Regions from separate parts of the Homo sapiens genome. Here regions 1, 2, 3 and 5 are each linked to region 4. Evidence: promoter capture Hi-C in 16 types of primary human blood cells and fetal thymus (Javierre and others, 2016). All regions are on one chromosome and are shown on one strand. Each heading gives the region's core, a stretch centred on a gene start or on the middle of the fragment in contact. The rest is flanking DNA. Distances are from core to core; before and after follow the strand shown. Region 1 overlaps TEP1 (telomerase associated protein 1). Region 2 overlaps KLHL33 (kelch like family member 33). Region 3 overlaps PARP2 (poly(ADP-ribose) polymerase 2). Region 4 holds the start of RNASE9 (ribonuclease A family member 9 (inactive)). Region 5 overlaps TEP1 (telomerase associated protein 1).

The links. The method cuts DNA at HindIII sites, captures the fragments that hold promoters and counts their contacts. A CHiCAGO score of 5 or more calls a contact.
Region 1: a contact is called between a fragment that was not itself captured here and the fragment with the promoter of RNASE9 in region 4, in 5 of 17 cell types (naive B cells, naive CD8 T cells, total CD4 T cells and 2 more). The highest score is 8.8, in naive B cells.
Region 2: a fragment that was not itself captured here is called in contact with the fragment with the promoter of RNASE9 in region 4 in 1 of 17 cell types (total CD4 T cells); the score reaches 6.1 in total CD4 T cells.
Region 3: a contact is called between a fragment that was not itself captured here and the fragment with the promoter of RNASE9 in region 4, in 7 of 17 cell types (total CD4 T cells, naive CD4 T cells, naive B cells and 4 more). The highest score is 7.3, in total CD4 T cells.
Region 5: a fragment that was not itself captured here is called in contact with the fragment with the promoter of RNASE9 in region 4 in 9 of 17 cell types (naive B cells, naive CD4 T cells, activated CD4 T cells and 6 more); the score reaches 10.0 in naive B cells.

What each region holds. Positions count from the first base shown.
Region 1 is chr14:20,380,703-20,383,402 of GRCh38, forward strand. TEP1 (telomerase associated protein 1) reads right to left here. Exons shown (of 55, transcript NM_007110.5): 27 at 2,472-2,651; 28 at 1,921-2,013; 29 at 1,522-1,654; 30 at 1,211-1,361; 31 at 851-984; 32 at 611-699; 33 at 229-343. Among named protein-coding and RNA genes, the nearest start is that of TEP1, 31 kb to the right of the region's middle. The HindIII fragment of the contact is 2,872 bases long and covers 1-2,700 here.
Region 2 is chr14:20,429,755-20,432,454 of GRCh38, forward strand. KLHL33 (kelch like family member 33) reads right to left here. Exons shown (of 5, transcript NM_001365790.2): 3 at 41-965. Among named protein-coding and RNA genes, the nearest start is that of KLHL33, 5.1 kb to the right of the region's middle. The HindIII fragment of the contact is 2,721 bases long and covers 32-2,700 here.
Region 3 is chr14:20,356,522-20,359,221 of GRCh38, forward strand. PARP2 (poly(ADP-ribose) polymerase 2) reads left to right here. Exons shown (of 16, transcript NM_001042618.2): 13 at 69-168; 14 at 530-628; 15 at 875-999; 16 at 1,117-1,383. The coding sequence ends at 1,276. Among named protein-coding and RNA genes, the nearest start is that of PARP2, 14 kb to the left of the region's middle. The HindIII fragment of the contact is 3,285 bases long and covers 1-2,700 here.
Region 4 is chr14:20,559,715-20,562,414 of GRCh38, forward strand. RNASE9 (ribonuclease A family member 9 (inactive)) reads right to left here and starts at 1,333. Exons shown (of 3, transcript NM_001110356.2): 1 at 1,160-1,333. RefSeq lists an enhancer at 1-353. The HindIII fragment of the contact is 11,449 bases long and covers 1-2,700 here.
Region 5 is chr14:20,396,870-20,399,569 of GRCh38, forward strand. The region is part of intron 9 of TEP1 (telomerase associated protein 1); the gene reads right to left. Among named protein-coding and RNA genes, the nearest start is that of TEP1, 15 kb to the right of the region's middle. The HindIII fragment of the contact is 1,267 bases long and covers 724-1,990 here.

The DNA of each region.
Region 1 (2,700 bases), core at 107-2,606, 180 kb before region 4:
GTTTTATGCTAACTAAATAAAGTTGAAGAATCTCTGGTCCAAGAGATCAAGGTGAAAGGTCTCCTGAGAGTCACGTGCTCACCCTCTTGGCATTTTCAACTCGAAATGGAAATTTGAATCTTTTTTCCCTGACACCCACACCCCTGCCCCAACCCTGAGCAGGGCCCCCATAAGCACACCCAGGAGTCCCATATCTCAGAGAAGAACCCAGCCAGTGACTCATCTCACCATAGAGGGCATGGGCCTCCAAGAGCCGAGAGACCAGACCCAATTCCAAGTGTGCAGCCACCACATGGAGGTTGGTAAGGAACTTCGAAAGAAGTCCACGGTTCCCGCTCTGGAGCTGAGAAGGTCAGATTGAATTCATTAGGGATATGAAGGGGCTGGTGAGAAGGGACAGTTTAGTCTCAGAACCTGGATACAGAGATAGGATCTGAGCTGGGACAAAGGACTTGAAGAAGAAGGGCAGGAAAACTGAAAGGAAAGAGGTCAAGGGAGTTTGGGAGGGGTAATGGCGGCGGTGATGGTGGAGATGGTAACGGGGAGAGGGGTCTCAGAGCAACCAAAGCACTCACTTTGGGAAAGGTGTCTATGGGGTCTAGGAACTAACCAGGTGGTAAGGCAGGTCTCCCAGAGCCTCAGGAGGGCAACTTCGGAAGGTGCCTGAGGCATCAGCGTCACATGTCTTCCAGAGCTGAGCTGCATGAACAGATATTGAGAAAGGCTCAGCCCTGCATCATTCCCAAGGGCAGTAGGTGAGCTGGCCAGCAGATGGGAGCACAGTGGGTGGTCCTGGCCTCCAGGCCCAAGCCCCACACTCAGTGCCCAGGCTGACTTGGGCTGCAATCACCTGCAATGAGGATGTGTGCCGTGTCCTCTAGCCCTGGCCTCTTCCCATAGCAACGTTTAGCTGCTGTTCTCAGGGGCCCATCAGGGAGGCACAGCCGGGCACCAGGGCGCTCCAGAGGGCCCTCCCCTAGCAAACTGTCCTCGTGTGAGGAAGGGAGAGAGAAGAAGGAAGAGGCCTGTCAGTGAGCTTCCTGGCACACAGTGGGCTCCTATTCCCCCCTCAAATAGCGGAAACTGGAGCAGCTGGAGCAGTAGCTCATTCATGGTCTGGGAGCCAGTTGTTGAAGCTATACAGAGGGCCCCGGCTCAAAGAAGGGAAGGCACAGAGAGGTCAGCGGGAGCTCTGCTGGGGCACCTGTACCTGCGCAGACTCTGGACGAGGCAGGCAAACGGGCCCATGGGGTAGGGGTCTCCACTGTTACCAGCAGCCACTGCTTCTTCCCAGCTCTTAGTCCCCTTCGGTAGTGTCCGCCACACACTCAGCACTCCGTGCAGCTGGTCCACAGTCAAACCTGAAAACTCAAGCTCTCTGAGGCCCTCATCTAACCATACGGTGTCCCCGCCCCCACCACACCCAGTCTCTCCTTGAACTGCCTGCTGAGACCCCAAGGGAACCAATGTAATCCGAACCCTGGCCCTCAGCCTCCCAACCAACCCACCCCAAGCACTGACCACTCCGTGTGACTTCTAGGGCAGTCAAGGCCTGGGGAAGGACATCAGGCCCGTGCTCCTTCTCCAGTGTGCTCAGGATGTGCTGCAGCAGCAGGGGGACAGTGGCAGGCAGGGTCCGGAGTCTCTCAGACACCTAGGATGGCGGGAGGACAGCCTTGTTCAGTGCAGTGGGAGGAGAAGCAGCTTGGCTTGTGGGATAGGGAAGGGGCAGCAGGAGGACAGTGTGGAGGAATGAAAAAGTAAAGAACAACAGTAGGAGGGAAGTGAGGCGAGGTATGAGGCGAGGATAGGGAGTGGGTGATCACAAGACAGCAAAGGACGTGGGATAGGGATGAGACAAAGCAGCTGAAGAGAGAATGGGAAGTAGTGATTAGGACTTGGAAGGTGATGAGAACTGACCTGCTCATACAGCGTGAAGAGCCTCAGGTGATCGGTGACCAAGCGCAGGTAGAGCGGCCGGCCTGATTCCCGCTTCACCAGCAGCAGTCGCATCTGGCAAGACTCAGGACTCAGGGTGGGGTCCAGGAGGGCTGCCCGCAGCCAGCCCTCTGCCCCAGCACCAGCCCCTCTGCCAGGCAGCTCCTCCTCTGAGAGTCCCCAGCAGACGCCAGGTCCATGGCATCATCCCAGGACACAAACCATCCCTCTCCTACGCTGCTCTGCCCAGCCAGCCCTGCCAGAAAACCCCTGTGGCTCGGCCTACCCCACCAAAAACCACTTGACTCATCCCCTCACCCCGAGAGGCCCTGGAAAGGCCATTCACCGGGGGAAGAGGGCTGGGTGACATGATCAGGAATCACAATTTTCTTATTAACAACTTCCCATGGACAGAATTTCTGAGAAAACAAAGGAGCAGGTCTGTGCAAGGCAGCTAGCGGCCTCGGCACCCCAGGTCCTCATAGCTCCCAGATTCACCCCACACACCCACCGGCCCCGGCCTAGAACCCAACCTGGTTGTTAAATGGTGACTCCTCCAGCCGCTTCCCGTACAGGGCCAGCTCCTCTCTCACCAGCCGGGCCCGAGCAGAGGCCTCCAGAGGCCCCAAGGCCAGCACGTGGGCACCCTGGCTCTGCTCAAGGGTCTCCCCTAGGCCTGCATCACTAGACACACTCAGCACCAGGTGTACACACTGTGATATTTGGGCAAAGGGGCAGGAAGGTAGAAAGAAAAGGAGAACC
Region 2 (2,700 bases), core at 142-2,641, 130 kb before region 4:
TAGGGCCTGCCACACCCTGCCCACTCCTAGAAGCTTATACCTGAGAGTTGAAGCCAGGGTGTTGGAGTGACTGTAGAAATCTTGTCCCCCACACACATAGAGTTCACTTCCTGCCAGGCTTGCAGCCCCATGCCGGAAGCGTCCGGGGGCAGGCAGGGCAGGCAGCTGCCCCCACTCAACAGTTCGTACCAGTCCCACGCCACAGCGGAAGGCCCGGGCCCACCACACTGCTCGGGATGGTTGTCTTAGGGCCATGTCTGGTCTGAGCCCATCCCCGCCAATCACTACCAGTGCCCGGTCAGGCTCCCTCCGTCTCTCTTGGCCTGGAACATCAGCCTCTACCATCAGCTGGTGCAACAGATCTGGGGTCAGGGGTGGAAGTAGCCCGGCTGCCCGCACCCTCCGCAACTCCCTGGTGGACATGCGGCCAAAGCGGACACATCGCAGCAGGGCCTTGGCCTCTGACTCCTGGGTCTCGGGGTTGGCAGCCAGCCAACACCGTGCAGCCACAAAGGCCTCAAACTCCTCCTGCACATGGAGCTCATCACTATCCAGGAGCTCAGCCAAGCAGGCAGCTGGTAAAGAAGGGAAAGCAGGACACAAGGCTACAGCAGGCAGGTGGGTGAGGAGGTAGTGACGGGCTTTGCTCCAGAGCCTCTCCAACCCAGGGGCTTCCGCCATGGGGAACAGGGCCAGGCAACGGGCAGGGCTGAGGCCCCGTGCCAAGCCTTTCTGACACAAATCCAAGCAGGAAGAGCTCTGGTACTGCAGAGCAGCCTGGGCAGCTCTCAGTAGCCCTGGCCACCTTGCCCGCACAACTCCGGAGTAAGCAAAAGAGACGAGGAGTCGCAGGTCCTGGGTGGAGATCGTCCGCAGAGATACCTCTGTGCCCTGGGATTCCCTCATCCCGCTCAGGAGCATGGCCCCAAAGAACTCACTGCCACAGGCCAGGGCGGCTCGGTGCACTGCAGGAGGGGAGAAGGAATAGAGGAGGACTCAAAGTATTGCAAGACCGATAGGCATTACCCCAACTTGGTACTCTAAGTTTGGCCAAACTCTAAGTTTGGCCCTCCAAGCCACCCACTGCTACAGACCAAACTGTGGTGTGCATCAGAATACCATGGGGTAGTTGTTAAAATGCAGGTTTCAGCAGTCCACTCCCAGAGATTCTGATTCAGCAGTTCTGGACGGAGACCCTAGAAATTTGTATTGTAACACTTCAAGTAACCCTATGTGATTCTCATGTTAGTGGCCTGAAGACACTTAGATAAACATTGCTTTAGTCTTTTTGGTCAGATGAGTCAGAAAAAGAGTCTTCATGGATCAGGTTGAGAGGAAAGCATTTGCTAAGAGGAGCACAAAATAAATGGGAAATGACCAACAAGCAACTTATATAGGTCTGTCTATATCGTGACAAAATAAAATTCTTTACAATCAAGAGCCAAGACTGTCAGCCATTCTGTTAGATTTTGCTGGGAAAGTGGCACCACTCGGGAATGGCTGTAATCCAACCTCATCGGATTGCTGTCTCCTCTTGCCTAAGATTTAGTGTTTAATGTTTTCCGTGCGTCCCAGCTTTTCTCTGCATAACCCTCTCCTGTTCTTGGTGTAATTTGTAGAATCATGAGATCTGAAACTTGAGAACTTCAAAATAATCTAATTCAATTATTCCCTTTAAAATAAGGAAACTGGTTGGGTGTCGTGGCACACACCTGTAATCCCAGCACTTTGGGAGGCTGAGGTGGGTAGGATCACTTGAGGTCAGGAGTTCAAGGCCAGCCTGGCCAACATGGTGAAACTCCATCTCTACCAAAAATACAAACATTAGCCGGGCATGGTGGCAGGCGCCTGTAATCCCAGCTACTTGGAGACTGAGGCAGGAGAATAGCTTGAACCTGGGAGGCGAGGGTTGCAATGAGCTGAGACTGCGCCGCTGCACCCAGCCTGGGTGACAGAGCGAGACTCCATCTCAAAATAAATAAATAAATAAAATGTGGAAACTGAGTTGGGTCCCAAAGAAAGCATGTGATTTATTTTTCATTTCCATGCAGTGGCTGTGTGGGCAGATCATCTCCATCCACTGCCACTGATGTCAGGCTGCAATAAGCATGCTTGTGTACCAATACCTTGGTTATCTGCATGGTCCTCATGACAATGAAACTGTCCTATTAACCTACGCTGTTAAACAATTAGACCTCATACTCAGCATCACTTATGGATTATTCTGGCCAAAATATTTAACTTGAATCTGTTCAACTCTTTAGATCTAAAGTCAAGTTTATAGGAAGTTGAAAGGCTAAAGGAACAATTTAGAGGGGAAAAACCACACAAATCAAGAAAATGGAGCATTTTATAGGATAACCAATTTTTTTTTTTTTGAGATAGGGTCTTACTCTGTCACCCTGCCTGGAGTGCAGTGGTACAATCTCGGCTCACTGCAACCTCCACCCTCCAGCTTCATGTGATTCTCGTGCCTCAGCTTCCAGATTAGCTGGGACTACAGGTGCACGCTACCATGCCTGGCTAATTTTTGTATTTTTAGTAGAGACGGTTTCGCCATGTTGGACAGGCTAACCTTGAACTCCTGGCCTCAAGTGATCTGCCTGCCTCGGCCTCCCAAAGTGTTGGGATTACAGGCGTGAGCCACTATGCCTGGCCCAGGGTAACCAATCTTACATGTTATTGTCTTTACCAATCAAT
Region 3 (2,700 bases), core at 43-2,542, 200 kb before region 4:
TGGCTTTTTTATGCTTATGGCCTATCTGTGCAGAACAACAGAGTACAATAATATTGGCTTTTCCTTAGGATGCTTCTATGGCATGGTTCCAGGATGAGTAACTGGGTGGGAATCTTGAGCCATGGGCTTCGAATTGCCCCACCTGAAGCTCCCATCACAGGTTACATGGTGAGTGAAATTGAACTCTGGGAGGAGCACAGGGGAAAGGGATACAGTAATGTTCTCAGTGCTTTTTTTCCTAGATTAGGATTAGATGGTTCCCCTCCCCAAGAGTTAAGCCAGCTCACTGATAACCTTGTCATCTCTTACTGTGTCCCTCTTTCTTTAAATTCCTAAAGATACCTCACCTTTCCCTCAGAAGGCGGAAATTCACAGGGGCTTCTACCCTCTCTAGAACAGAATTGTGAGGGGAAATGGAGAAGGGTCTATATTGTGTTTAAGGGAATGGAAAAACAGGGTCAGTGGTATGCACCTTCTCTCTAACACAGTGGGTTAGAAGCTGACCTTGGTATTCATGTATATATTTCAGTTTGGGAAAGGAATCTACTTTGCTGACATGTCTTCCAAGAGTGCCAATTACTGCTTTGCCTCTCGCCTAAAGAATACAGGACTGCTGCTCTTATCAGAGGTGAGACAGGAGTATGTCTGTGATCTCTAGTTTATTAATTCCAGTTTTTTTCCGATGAGAAAAGTTTGACCCCAGAACCAAGAGGTTTACCTGGGATAGCTTGAGAGAGGACCAAGTACAATTTCTAGTACATTGGATTCCTCTGCTGGAGTAGGGGAAAAAAGTACTGATGGGATTTTCTGTTTGGCTTTGGAGCCATCTAATTCTTAGTAGGATATGGGAATTCAAAGGTTTTTTGCTTTGCAGGTAGCTCTAGGTCAGTGTAATGAACTACTAGAGGCCAATCCTAAGGCCGAAGGATTGCTTCAAGGTAAACATAGCACCAAGGGGCTGGGCAAGATGGCTCCCAGTTCTGCCCACTTCGTCACCCTGTAAGTACTCAGAACCAGGAGGACTAGAAGACTCCTTTTGGCCAGATAAGACTACGTTCTCTATTGCAGCTTCTGAACCAGAGACTGATGTTGACACACTTTTTTTCCATTTGGCAGGAATGGGAGTACAGTGCCATTAGGACCAGCAAGTGACACAGGAATTCTGAATCCAGATGGTTATACCCTCAACTACAATGAATATATTGTATATAACCCCAACCAGGTCCGTATGCGGTACCTTTTAAAGGTTCAGTTTAATTTCCTTCAGCTGTGGTGAATGTTGATATTAAATAAACCAGAGATCTGATCTTCAAGCAAGAAAATAAGCAGTGTTGTACTTGTGAATTTTGTGATATTTTATGTAATAAAAACTGTACAGGTCTACCACTGGCTTCTTCGGGCTTTATTTCTCCAAGAACATATTTCTTCTGACATTAGTAGATCTCCATTTCCAGGACAGAAATTACTCATTGCTCTGAGGGTTATTCAGTATCCTGTTCTTAGTGGCATCTGTGCATTGAGGGACACTAATGGGGGCGCTAATGCTTTTACCTGTTTAATTCAATTTTTCTGCAAACTGGAATTTGTTGAGTATTATCACAGGAAGGGTAGAGGCAACAAAGGCTAAGTCGTGTTTTTCTTTCCCATGCATATGTATTCACTTGCCTTTTTCAAATTTATCCACTGCAGCCTAGGTCTCCCACTACTCAACATCCTAGGACTCATCACATGTCCAAAAATTTGGGAAGCCCTTGGAGGACTGTCACTAAGCCTGAATACATCTTGAGGAGGAAAGGAAAAAAGTGGAATGAGTTTTTACATAACCTGCTCCAACTAAGAAGTACTAAAGTCCAGGTCAGATCCTGATATGGTTAGGCTTTGTGTCCCCATCCAAATCTCATCTTGAACTGTAATCCCCAGAATCCCCACATTTTAAGGGAGAGACCAGGTGGAGGTAACTGAATCATGGGGGCAGTTTCCCCCATGCTGTTCTTGTGATAGTGAGTGAGTTCTCACGAGATCTGATGGTTTTATAAGGGGCTCTTCCTACTTCGCTTGGCACTTCTCCTTCCTGCCACCCTGTGAAGAAGGGCTTCCCCTTCACCTTCCTCTATGATTGTAAATTTCCTGAGGCCTCCTCAGCCATGGTGAACTGTGAGTCAAACCTCTTTCCTTTATAAATTACCCAGTCTCGGGCAGTTCCTTATAGCAGTATGAAAACAGACTAATACAGATCCAAAGACTTCCTGATTGTATTTAAACACACAACACAGATAAACAACACACTTCCTTAAGTAACAGAGAAGTTTGTTTAAATTTTTCCTGTAACTTTTTAGAAACCAGGTTTCCAATATCTATCAAAATTTGAAATGTTCATGCCCTGTTGACCTAAAACTTACAGATATATATGTTTGCATAGATGTCACTGAGGCATTGGTGTACACAAAAAGATCATAGATAAGGAACTAGTCAAATATATCTACTCACTGAAGTAACCTGCTATTAAAACTGAAGTAGACTGCATACTTTTCCAAAGAATAGAAGAGAGGAAAATACTTTGCAACTAATTCTACAAAGCAGAATGAAACCAAAACCAGATGAAGATATCACAAGAAAATAAAATTATAGACCAATATCCCTTAACAATATAATTGCAAAAATCAACAAAATACTACCAAGCCTAATCCAGCAACATTATAA
Region 4 (2,700 bases), core at 83-2,582:
TAATATGCATTAAAATGAACTTGTGAAAAAGAAAACATCCTAAAACAGTAGGGAAAACGTTTGGCCCTTTCAGCAAATGTTCTTGGAAGAAGAATGGGATGAATTGCTTCCTCCTTTTGGCTATTGTGAATCATGTTGCTATGAACATGGGTGCACAAATACCTGTTCAAGTCCCTGCTTTTCTTCCCTGCTTTTAAACTTGCTTGGAAGGTTTATTGTAACTTAGAATTGCAGACTGAGAAAGGCCTTGGAGGGGTTGTCTATCTAGTCTCTCCTCCTAAAATGCAAGTTCTGAGCCCCAGATCAGAACTCTATATTTAACCACACACATAAGAAGTTTATAGTAAAAAGAAAAGATTGGAATGAGTTATGGGCTTGTAGGTGAACCAATATGTTTCAGAAGGATTATTAAGTGGTATTTTAAATTTTTAAATTTAAGTTTAAGATTAAAATTTAAATTTAAAACTGATTTAAATTAAATTAATTTTTAAAAAGATTTGTTTGAACACCTTATATAATAAAGCATCAATAAATCATGATCATATAATAATTATATAGCCTCAATCACAGAAGGAAAAACTAAATTAAATCTTTTAAATTGGCAATAATTATAATAACTTACAAACTCAATGCTGATAAGAGTGTGATGAGATGTTTCTGCAGAAAGAAATTGTTATAATTTTTTTGAAAAATTTGAGAAATACAATAAAAAGAATAGCTGATACTTTTCTCTAGCATTTCAATAGCTAGAATTCTAAGTTGCAATAATTTATATTGAAAGACAAACAGCAAATTTTACTTAAAAGGGAAAAAAATTGAAATTTTAAAATATAAATATCCAAAAATGTGGGAAAGGGAAAGGTTAAAATGAGTCTGATGTGTTTATAGAAATGACAATACACATTGCAATAATAATTATTATTATAAGAGCTAATATTTATTGAGACAGTATTTTATATTCATAGAATTGTATATTCTTAGAATGGGCTATTTTTCAGAATTTACAAATATATTAATCAATAAAGTTTTAGATCATCTGAGAAACAAGGAGAATAGAAAAAAAGCATTAAAAACTTTAGAGATATGAAATATTTTGTGATATAATATTATAGTACTAGGACTCTCTGGTTGACAGTGAGAAAAATTCCAAACAAATTACCTTAAATGCAAGAGGCACTATGTTGACTCACAGAAGTTGGAAGTCCAAGAGGTAGAGCAGGAGAAAGAAATCAAATTCTTGACTAGACTCTTGTTTTTACTCTCTCCCACTCTACTCTCCTTTGTACACTAACTTTATTCTCATGTAGGGGCCTCTCCATGTAATGACAGAGTCAATCACTGCCCCCTTTGTAGCCTTATATTTAGGATCACAGTAGGAAGTGCCATTCTCTGCCACCTTCACTCAACATGGAAAATAACTTTTCTGATTGGCTGTGCTTCTGTCACATGAATAAATCCAGGGATGTGGGGCACTCTGATTGGCTACCTGAAACACATGTCCTCTTTGAGAAGTAAAGGCAAAACTACACAATTAAAACCCAACAGAATTCCAATTGTCGATAGAAGGGCTGTTCCCTATTACACAAAAAAGGAATGGAGACCAAATCCGAAAGTAATAAACGTGCTTTGCTGTTTAGCTGGGGGAAAATCAAAACACTCCATCTACAGCATGTTCCCAATTAACAGAAATATAGATTACAAGGGAAAGAAAAGAAAAAATGTAATAATAATAAGTTGTTATTTCTGAATGATATATTTCTGGTTAATTTTTTATTCTAATCTTTAAAATTGTCAATTTTACAAATTCAAAAAAATAACAAAATATCATTGAAGAAGTCAAGTTTTAAGATCTGGATTGGCCATGTTCTTAAATATTAAGTGATAATTTTCCAGACTCCCACATGTTTATATCAGTAAACTCATTTTTCATCAGCATCAGGAAAATCTGTGCCTTAGTTTGAGTGGTTGAGAAAAGACAGATTATAAATCTTCAATCCTCAGAATTAGACTAACCTTTGTGAATAAATCCCAGGGTATCTCTTAGTTAAATCCAGTAGAAAAATATAGGTTTTAACCAGCTTTAAATTAAATTTTCACAAACATTTTGAGGCAATATTTATGTCTCAAACCTTTACACCCATGATTGAACTGAGAATGGTATCAGGATGGGAAAATCTGGAGGAAAAATGTTATCCTTGTGAGTAAATAAGAGAATCAACAAGTTCACTGGTATATCACACCTTTGGCCCAATTCAAGACGTTTCCTCCCTTAGGGCCACTGTAAAAACTTGAGTGTCAGAGCTTAAAGCAGCACACAGACTAGACATACAGAAAACAAGTGTTTCTAAATAATTGAAAATCAACCTTCGGAGCATAAATAGAGTAATTTTCATATCTGATTTTACAAAAATGAAGTCAAACCAGGTCTGGGTTCACAGAAATCTCTTCAGAACTGACCGCACGTTTTTGCAAATTTATTTTACTCATATCTTATTTAGCTTTTTAAATGTACAATTCTGCAAAATTTTAAAAGGACTTAGGTAGATATTTACTATTTTTCATGTAATGCTAGTGTGAGTCTAGAAGGTATAGACTGAGATGTGGCCTCTGGTTTTGTTTGATTTCCTAAGTTGGTATTTCTCAGGGATCAGAAATAGCAAGAAAATTGAAATATGGAATATATGAGGATTGGCTCTCTCC
Region 5 (2,700 bases), core at 107-2,606, 160 kb before region 4:
GGGCAACATAGCAAGACTGTCTCAAAAAAAAAAAGCAAATGAGGGATGATTAGAGAGAGGTCAGAGACCAGAGCAAGAAGTTCAGAAACCAGGCATGTGGAAAGTCCAAGATAGAGGAAGTGAGGAATTCACATACAATCTACCCTACTCAAAATGTTTTAAAGGCTTGGAAAGATTAAAAACAGGGTTGGCCCAAAGTTTGGAACAAAATTTATGCAACACTGTTTATGGGATGGCTGTTATGTTACCACTTAATCTGTTGGCTCTAGCCCTAAGATTGGGTTCAACTGGCAAAATGTATTATCTAGTCTAGAGCAAAGGTTTCTAAACTTTTTAGATGGCCAAAAGAGAAATTTCGTAGTGTAAGTTGATTTATGAAGTATATACTAACATAATGTAGCACATTCATTAGTTAATATTTCAAGGCACAATATCCATTTAAAAGAAGGTTCACCATTTATGAAACCCCGTCTCTACAAAAATACAAAAATTAGCCAGGCGTGGTGTCTGGTGCCTCTAATCCCAGCCACTCGAAAGGCTGAGTCAGGAGAATCGCTTGAAACCAAAATGCGAAGGTTGCAGTGAACCGAGATCACGCCACTGCACTGCAGCCTGGGTGACAAAGCAAGACTCTGTCTCCAAAAAAAAAATTAAAAAAAAGTTCACCATTTATAATGACGAATGTATGTAAATCCATATTTGAAATAGTCTTCATAATTTGTAAGCTTCTCACCCAATTTCTTCTATTTGATTAGTCATTACTTTTTTTGCTTAAATATAGGTGAAAAAGATTTGCACTGGAGATAGAATTTCACCACTGACCTCTGTCACTTCCTTATTGTTCCCTTGTACCTGTGTTATTAATATTATCTTCAAGCCATAGTTTCTTTTCTTTTTTTTTTGAGACGGAGTCTCACTCTGTCACCCAGGCTAGAGTGTGGTGGTGCAATCTCAGCTCACTGCAACCTCTGATTCCTGGATTCAAGCAATTCTCCTGCCTCAGCCTCCGAGTAGCTGGGATTACAAGTGCTCACCACCATGCCTGGCTAATTTTTGTATTTTTAGTAGAGACGGGGTTTCACCATGTTGGCCAGGCTGGTCTCAAACTCCCGATCTACAGTGATCTGCCTGCCTCGGCCTCCCAAATTGCTGGGATTACAGGCGTGAGCCACCATGCCCAGCCCATAGTTTCTTAATAATAATATTTTTAAGGTTTATATCAATTTTAGGCCGGGTGCAGTGGCTCACGCCTGTAATCCCAGCACTTTGGAAGGCCGACTCAGGCGGATCATGAGGTCAGGAGATCAAGACCATCCTCGCTAACACGGTGAAACCCCATCTCTACTAAAAATACAAAAATTAGCCGGGCGTGGTGGTGGTCGCCTGTAATCTCAGCTAATCAGGAGGCTGAAGCAGGAGAATCACTTGAACCTGGGAGGCGGAGGTTGAAGTGAGCCGAGGTCGCGCCATTGCACTCCAGCCTGGGCATCAAAGTGAGACTCCGCCCAAAAAAAAAAAAAAAAGGTTTATATCAATTTTAGACAGTTAATTTGGTTAATACTGAATAATATAATTCCAAATCCATCTACAATTGAAAGATAAATTGCTATAAGTCAAATTATATAGAAACCAAAATTAAAAAAAAAAAAGAGTGAAGGGGTGACATTAATGCCCTCAGATTGTGGATGCTCAGAAAACCTCAACTATTACACGTAACACATAACACTGTATCATATGGATTCAGTGACTATGTGGGTTCAATCTGCATGGTAAGTACTGGGAAAATTCTTTTCTTTTAGATAAAAGTAAACATAAATAGGAGGTGTGATTTTCTTTTCCTGGACAGAGGTGCATTCAAACCACTTTAGAGGCCAGGCCGGTCAGTCCGTCACCATGCCTTGTGCACCAGCCCACACCATCAGCAGCTTCATCAGGTAAATGCTGCTCCCTTTGTAAAGGGGATGTAAGTCTTATTTGAATTATAGCTGGAAGCTTTCAGCCCTCTGGAAGTCTTGGGATTCTCCAGTCATCATTCTTTTTTTTTTTATTTTTGAGATGGAGTCTGTCTCTGTCACTCAGTGGCACAATCTTGGCTCGCTGCAACCTCCACTTTCCAGGCTCAAGCAATCCTCCTGCCTCAACCTCCCAAGCAGCTGGGACCACAGACATCAACCACCATGCCCAGCTAATTTTTCTATTTTTGGTTAGAGACGGGGTTTCACCATGTTGCTCAGGCTGGTCTCAAACTCCTGAGCTCAAGTGATTTGCCCGCCCCAGCCTCCCAAAGTGCTGGGATTACAGGCGTGAGCCATGGTGCCTGGCCTCCAGTCATAATTCTGATTCACAAACTGTATGGAACAATTAGGTTGTATATGTACTATAAATGAACTATTGCATCCATTGTCGACTCAAGTTTTTTCCACTGTTACTATGTATAAAAGGTTTTCTAGATCATTTTCGGTAAGAAATTAAGTCCAATATCATACTGGTGATATTAGAAAATAAACTGGACATTTATCCTTAAGATTGCAAAATTCACTAATTTCATTCCAAAAAAATGTTAATGAGTTATTAATGAGATCTGTGGTCTTCAAAAAGGGTTCTGTATATCCAATTACATTTTATCTTATATTTTATACTTATATCTTTTTTTATATTTCCTTTTATTTATTTATATTTATTTTTGGCTGGGCACAGTGG